Regions from separate parts of the Homo sapiens genome. Here region 2 is linked to region 1. The links are contacts of gene promoters, found by promoter capture Hi-C in blood cells and fetal thymus (Javierre and others, 2016). All regions are on one chromosome and are shown on one strand. The core of a region is centred on a gene start or on the middle of the fragment in contact, and the rest is flanking DNA. Distances in the headings are between cores, read along the strand shown. Region 1 holds the start of ACVR1C (activin A receptor type 1C). Region 2 overlaps GALNT5 (polypeptide N-acetylgalactosaminyltransferase 5).

The links. The method cuts DNA at HindIII sites, captures the fragments that hold promoters and counts their contacts. A CHiCAGO score of 5 or more calls a contact.
Region 2: a fragment that was not itself captured here is called in contact with the fragment with the promoter of ACVR1C in region 1 in 1 of 17 cell types (total CD4 T cells); the score reaches 5.4 in total CD4 T cells.

Annotation. Positions count from the first base shown.
Region 1 is chr2:157,627,160-157,630,675 of GRCh38, forward strand. It overlaps ACVR1C (activin A receptor type 1C), which reads right to left and starts at 1,705. Exons shown (of 9, transcript NM_145259.3): 1 at 1,413-1,705. The coding sequence starts at 1,485. RefSeq lists a silencer at 1,420-1,649. The HindIII fragment of the contact is 11,498 bases long and covers 1-2,225 here.
Region 2 is chr2:157,281,680-157,285,195 of GRCh38, forward strand. It overlaps GALNT5 (polypeptide N-acetylgalactosaminyltransferase 5), which reads left to right. Exons shown (of 10, transcript NM_014568.3): 2 at 2,603-2,769. Among named protein-coding and RNA genes, the nearest start is that of GALNT5, 26 kb to the left of the region's middle. The HindIII fragment of the contact is 3,733 bases long and covers 1-3,516 here.

The DNA of each region.
Region 1 (3,516 bases), core at 455-2,954:
GCCTCCAGAGGCAGTTTCACCCCATCAAAACTGTGATACCTTGAAGACTTTTTTTTGTAAACTCTATTAAATTGTCAAGAGCACTTTCAGTATCCCAAGTTAGCAGAGTTTTCACCCATTTTTTAAAGACTTTCCCATAGTTGGTTTTCTCCCACTTATAAATTTATTAACTCTAAATGCAAATATTTCACTTTATCCCATCATCTTTCCGACAGTCTTGGGCTGTTTTCCTAAAAGATAACTGGAATGTTTTAATCCTCAGATTTTGTCAATTAATCCTTTTCAATAATCAAATTTATATTTGAATATTGTATTTAGTGATTCTCTCAGGCCATCTGAAACACTGAAATCTGTACATGACAGCAATCATATCATTCAAATCATTCTCTTGCACATGTCACTAAGAGGAAAACGACCCACCATGAATATAGCTATTAATGTCAAACAGATTGTCATCTGGGAAAACAAAATGCATCAAAATCAGCTTCGGACAAAACACAGCTCTATGGGAAAACACCAGATTTTTATGTGCAAATGTCTTCAATGTCTGATAGAAATTTTTAAAGAATGAGTTAGCAAAGAATCTGCTCCTCCTCTGCATAATCCAGGACAATGTAATGAAAATAGTTTTCGAGGTAAAGGGCTTTTAGTCACAGCATATTATGATTTTACCAAAGATGCATTTGCCCCACTTTCTAGTAAACATTATAAAGAAACGTCTGGCTTCTAGATTGGGTAGAGGGCTCTATTTAGCCTATCAAGGCACAGACCTGTTATAAACTCTGGGGCGCTTGCCAGAATTTTTTTCCCCAGGAACTCTGAGTAAAGATCGTACCTCGAAAGCAATGTGCGTTGCAAACCACACAGATTTAAGCTCCCACTCTCGCCTCCATAGCTTGGCATCTGCGGCTTTTGGGGTATTCCCCGCCTCCTAAAACTCAGACTAAATCACCACCTCCCACCACCACCATGCCACCATCCTTGAGCAGCTCTCAGGGGCTTAGCACAGAGCGCGTCCGACGCATACCTGCAGCCCTCCAGGTCCCTGCAGGGTGAACCCAGCTCCCAGCCATGCGCGCACCCACAAACGCTCTCCTATTTTCTCCGCTGCAAACTGCCCACAAATTAGTCACCCACCTCACCCCTACTACTTATTCCCCCACGTCCCTGCTGCCTTTTCCCTCTTCCGGGCGGCTTCGTCCCCAACACACCTGTCTACCCCTACGGCTGCCAGACGTCAGGTGCCCACGCTGCACCCTATCCCGCGCCCCCTCAATCCGACTGGCGCTTCCCTGTCCGCCCCGAAGGTCAGTTTGCTCGGAGCACCCCCTGTCCCCCACCCCCGTGCTCACCCGCAGACCTCCTCCCAGCTCCCACCCTCGCGGGCGTCGGGAGAGAAACCAGCACCGTACCTGGCGAGAGCTCGGCGGCCGCTGCGAGCAGCAGGAGAGCCTGGCGGAGCGCTGAGCAGAGCGCCCGGGTCATCGCCACCAGGCGGCCGCGCCGGGGCTGCGAGGCCCCAGAGCAGAGCGAGGCAGCCGGGGCAGCACGGCCCGCTTTGAAGTTCCCGGGCCGCGGGAGGGGAGCGCGGCACCGACACCCTTTTGAAGTGCGCGGTTGGCTCTAGTCAGTGTGGGCGCCCCCCTCCCCGGCCGCCCCCATCCCACGCCCCCTGCGGCTGGCGGTGCGCGGCGCTCCTGCCACTGGCCCCGCAGCCGGGCGGGGAGCGGGTGGTGGGGCGGGCGGCAGAGCCCGCCCCTGCCGCGCCTCCGCCCCCTGCGCCCTCTCGCAGCCGCCCGGGCCTGCTGCTGCAGGGCAGGCAGGCAAAGGCGGCCCTGTGCCCGGCAGTGAGATCGCCCAGAGCTGGGGCGAAGAAAGAGGGGGCGTGGGGAAGCAGTGCGGAGCCTCCGGGACTAGATACTCAGGAATGGGGCTTCTCACGGGAGGAAAAGCCCCACTGAGACTTTAGGGAAACTTCAACTACGCGGCGATTGCGCCCAGGTGATCCGCTCTATAACCTCCCGCAGAAGAGCCAGCCTCCTAGCTCTCCTGACGTTTGTTGTCCAGGGTCCTTAAGTCCAACCAGGTTGCGCTGTGAGAGCCCCGCGGGCTTCCTACTGGCTTGTCCCACCCCTGCGTCCTGGCCATTTGTGCCTCTGGGGAAGGGCGCCCTCTCTGTTCATCCCTGGAAATGACCAGTTGTCCGACTGCCTTCTGGACCTATAAGCTTTGGTTTAACAAACTTCATCTCTTCTTGGGTGCCTTTTGGGAACCCTTCCCTCTATGAATGGCGACCAAAGCTGGACCACCTGCGCCAGGTGATGTGGCCATCTACAATGTGTGACCCACGTCTGGTGGTAAAAGACCTCACCTATGGAAGATAATTTCGGCAGCTACAACTTCAGCAATTGAAGAACTAAGGGAACATACACACACACACACACACACACACACACACACACACACACACACGGATTAAGGGAAGGGGAAGAATTGTTTAAAGTAGTATATGAAAAACTTGTTTGAGTATTGTTTAATCCCTAGAGGCTAACTGTCAAACGGGTGCCTGAAAATATAAGGCCTGGATTGTGCCTGAAAATATAAGGACAACGGCAACATTACCAATTTATAGAAATTAAATTCAATTCACCTATGGAGCCTGAACATTAAAGTGAATGGGATTATTTCAATCTGAACAACGCGAAAAAGCAAGAATACAATACTGGTGTTATTACTACTGTTGGGGGTTCCTTGAAAAGTGATAGCGTCATAAAAATTGCTTTAGAGTAAAACATTTCTTGCTTCTTCACCTAGCTCAGGACTAAATTATATGCTAGGTGTTCTAAGTTCTATGAAAGACCTATGGTGAAATGTTGTATGTAATTGACTTTATTATCAAAGGATCACAGTATGGGAGATGAGATGGTTGTTGGACTTTGAGATGTGGGTGGCATCCTGAGGATCTTTTCTGCCACCATCTTATATTCCTAAGCACAAAAAAACTTTGTTCTTGTTTTATCCTGGATCCAAACAAACAAAAAACTGGAGATGTGGGACAAATCTGAGCCCTTTCAGACACCCACAAAACAGATGCTTTTTTAAAAAGGCAAGAAACTGCTAGGACACATTATATTTTGTCTGGTTTGGCTTGCTAATTATTTGATAACTGCACCTTAAATTGTGATCTGCCAATAGATCATGATACCGGGAGCCTAAATAGCAGAATGTAATGAACTTTCTGGGTCTGCTTCCTCAAAAGTAAATGGAACTTAATTCCTCCCTATTTCCCAGAACTTTGACCAGGATCAAAAAGGGTAGTGTATGAGAGAGCATTGTTAAACCATACACATTACAACAATGGCAGGGATTTACTCCCCACATACTTATTTTGTCTCTAAAGCAACATCCTCTGCAAGTTGTAAAGCTCTCATTTGCAAAAAAAAAAAAAAAAAAAAAAAAAAGGCCGGTCGCGGTGGCTCACGCCTGTAATCCCAGCACCTTGGGAGGCCGAGACGG
Region 2 (3,516 bases), core at 568-3,067, 350 kb before region 1:
GTTGGCAAAAATATGAGCATTGTAAGTACTTCTGGTGCAGGCTTAGAAGGAAATATAGAGCACATGATTGAGAAATGGAAGAAAATGATCCGTGTTACATAGTGGCAGTGAGCTTGGCTTAACTGTGTCCTATAGTCATGTGAAAATTAGCAGAACTTGCCAATGATGAAATCGGATATTTAGCTGAGGAGAGTACCAAGCAAAATGTTGAAGGTGCATACTGATATCTTCTTTCTGTTCAGAGTACAAATGTGAGAGAAAATAGATACATTCAGGAAGGAACTGTTAAGCAGAATTTTCAGTAATTTGTTATGGTGGCCAAAGTAAACTGATAAAGCTCTTAAGTGAAGAGAGGAATATCTTCTCATATTATTCAGAAGTGCTAATGCATGGATCCTTAGTGTAGACTAATATTAGTTTAGACAGTCTGATATTTTAAGTTAGCATTAGATACCTGATCACTACATGAAGATAGTGAATCAAAATGTGTTATTTTAATTCTCTGTCACTTGAACATTTAGGACATGCTCCTATCAGCTGTCAATTTATTTTTTTTAATATTAGCCTCAAATAATAAGAATAAATTAACTTTATCTTGAGCTCAAGTTCTTAAACTCACCAATCAATGATTTGTGAGTCATTCTTTTGTTTGTTGGTGGGTTGGTTTCTTTGTGTTTTCTTTTATTTGTTTGTATTTTAAGACATGGATTCTTGGGCCCTCAGCAAACCTTGTAAATTGATTTTCTGGGGCTGAGGATTGGATATTTATGTTTTTCTAAGGCTTTGTCAATTATTATGATAAACAACCATCTAGGAAACCATTGAAATTATGAAGCACAGCTGGATTTGTCTACCATTTCTTAAGTACCCCCTATGTGTCAGATATATATTAGATGAGTTTTACATAATGTTTATATGTAATCTTATAGGTACATGTTTAATTTCAGCTTTGTAGTTGGCAAATTGAGGTTCAAAGAAGTAGTAAAGCTGTTCCAAATCAGTAATTAGAAAAACTGATATTTGAGCACATATCTATTTCCAAAGCCCATTCTACAAAAAAAACCAGCAGTAAAGTAAAAACATTATTTGTTCATATTTCCTTATATATCCTATCTAGGTGGATGATGTGGGTAAGTCATTTAACTTCCCAAGATTTGAAGAAGTGTATAATAATATGTATCTCAAGCAGTTGTTATGAAGACTGAATTCAATTATGTACAGAATAGCACTTTGGCAACACTAGAGTGTCATGCAAATGTGATTTGCTTTACTATCGTTTTTGCTCTTACCTATTTCTTATTTATGGAATAAGTAAAGTATAACCATGTTATTTGGCAGAAGTGCCAGCTCTCACAAAATGTCGCATCTACTGCCAGCTGCTTCTATTCTTGTGGATCTAAGGCTTCCTCAATGGTTACTTTTGGAGCCAGACTGGATCAGTGTTCGAGTCCCAGCTCTGCCATTTACTAACTGCAGAATCATGGACTAGTCTTTCCATGATTTTGATTATTCACCAATAAAAAGGGAAAGAGATGCTGGTAATTTGAGGTCGACATTGAAATAATATAGAATGCTTATAATATTTATGATCATCATTAATTATCACATTACTGACAGTAGCTGTGTTAGTAAGATGGCAAATACATTTTGTGAGGTTCCACTGGGCACTGCTTATGAAGAGTGGCACAGGCAGGGGGTGAAAGAATGCCAGCAGTGAGGCAGTGTATTCTGCAGGGCATGGGAAAAAACCCAGGCCAGTTGCAACCCACCTGAATACTAACTCCCACTGTAGCCTGGATTGCATTCCTATGCCAGCAAAATGGTTTTTCAACTGTGGCTATTCTGTAGCAGAGTATCAGCAAGGAAGCCCCGGATACGGAAGCTAAAAAGAGTTTAATTATTTGGCACATATATATTATGCCATAAGTACATACACAAGCAGAATGGGAGAAAAGAATAAATCCCATGGCAGTTGGCAGACAGCCAGTTGGAAAGGCAATCATAAACCACTTGGGAACATTAAATAAGTCAGAATGCTATCTTCTAGCATATAATCTAGTAATGATAGCAATAACTACCATTTCATAAATTCCTGTGCCAGGAACCCTGCTAGGCTTTGTATGTACATTATCACTAGGCTACAAAACTCTATTGAATAAGAACCATTTATTACCTCATTCTGCAGATGAGGAAACTGAGGCACAGAGAAGTTAAAGAAGGCATTAATGGTTAAAGACCTGAGAAATATTGGCCATGAGATTTGAAATAGAGTCTAACTACCTGTAAACCCTGTCCTTTCCACTGCAGTGTGATGTCTGCATGGGACATTCTCATGTCTTGCATTTCTAGTCCTTTTATAACAACCACGGTTACGGGTAATTCTTCTGCTTTTTTATTTTGCATGTACCCCTCCCCAAAAAAAGGCACATGATAAATAATAAAATCATCATTGGTATATATAAATAGATGATAGATAGACCAGACAGATCGATGACAGATTAAGTGTGTGTGTATATGCACACCATCGCACTCTGTGACTTTTAAAACTATCTTGTGGATCTCCTTAGCACATCTCTTGTGCTCTGCTTATATTCTGGCCCAGATGTGCAGAGCAGCTAGTTCACAATAACCTCCCAACCACCAGTGTCATCATGTGCTTTGTGGATGAAGTGTGGTCCACTCTCCTGAGATCTGTTCACAGTGTCATCAATCGCTCTCCTCCACACCTCATCAAGGAGATTCTGCTGGTAGATGACTTCAGCACCAAAGGTAAGAAAACCACTCAGGCTATCTCTTGAAATTTCAAAGTTTGGCAGAAGCAAAGTTTAGTAGCAGTTTGGATGGCAAAATTATAGGATAATTTGATGAAGCATAAACATCGTACAAATGCTTTGTTTTACGTGGAGCCTCAGAGACATAAGTCTAAGCATCTATGGACGTTAAAAGTCATCTGGAGCTCTGTTCAGTTAGTTGTCTCAGTTGTAACTCTGCTACCATGTTGGAATGATCTAACTATGGCTCCTTGGAGATGGGCACTTAGAAGTAGTGGAGTTTAGATGTCCTCTACAATTGCACAAATCCCTTTTAATGGAATCACAATTAACGGGAGGCCTTGCCTACTGGTAATAACTAGAGTTACAGTTAGACTCTATGGAAGGCAAAGAAATTAAGATCTTATGGCTTCTTCCTTGAGAGCAAGGCATATGATGTGTTCAGTTAAGTGTTAAGAAGACAAATTGCCAATAGGACAAGAGAGATGAGGTGATTCCAACAAAGTTCAAAACCAGAATCCACCATAGCCTTTATGTTCATTTTTGCTTATTACAGTGAAGAATCTCACTCTTTGGGTTGTCAAATAACCTGTGTATGTAGGTGGTCTGACAGCCACATTACAAATTCCCAAATGGAACCCATTTTTCAGAAAAGTTTAGAAAATAGCAAAGACTTGGCAATGCTAATGGAACAGCTTACCCTTGAGCTGTGACCACAGCAACATGGGAAGTTTCTTTAGCTTCA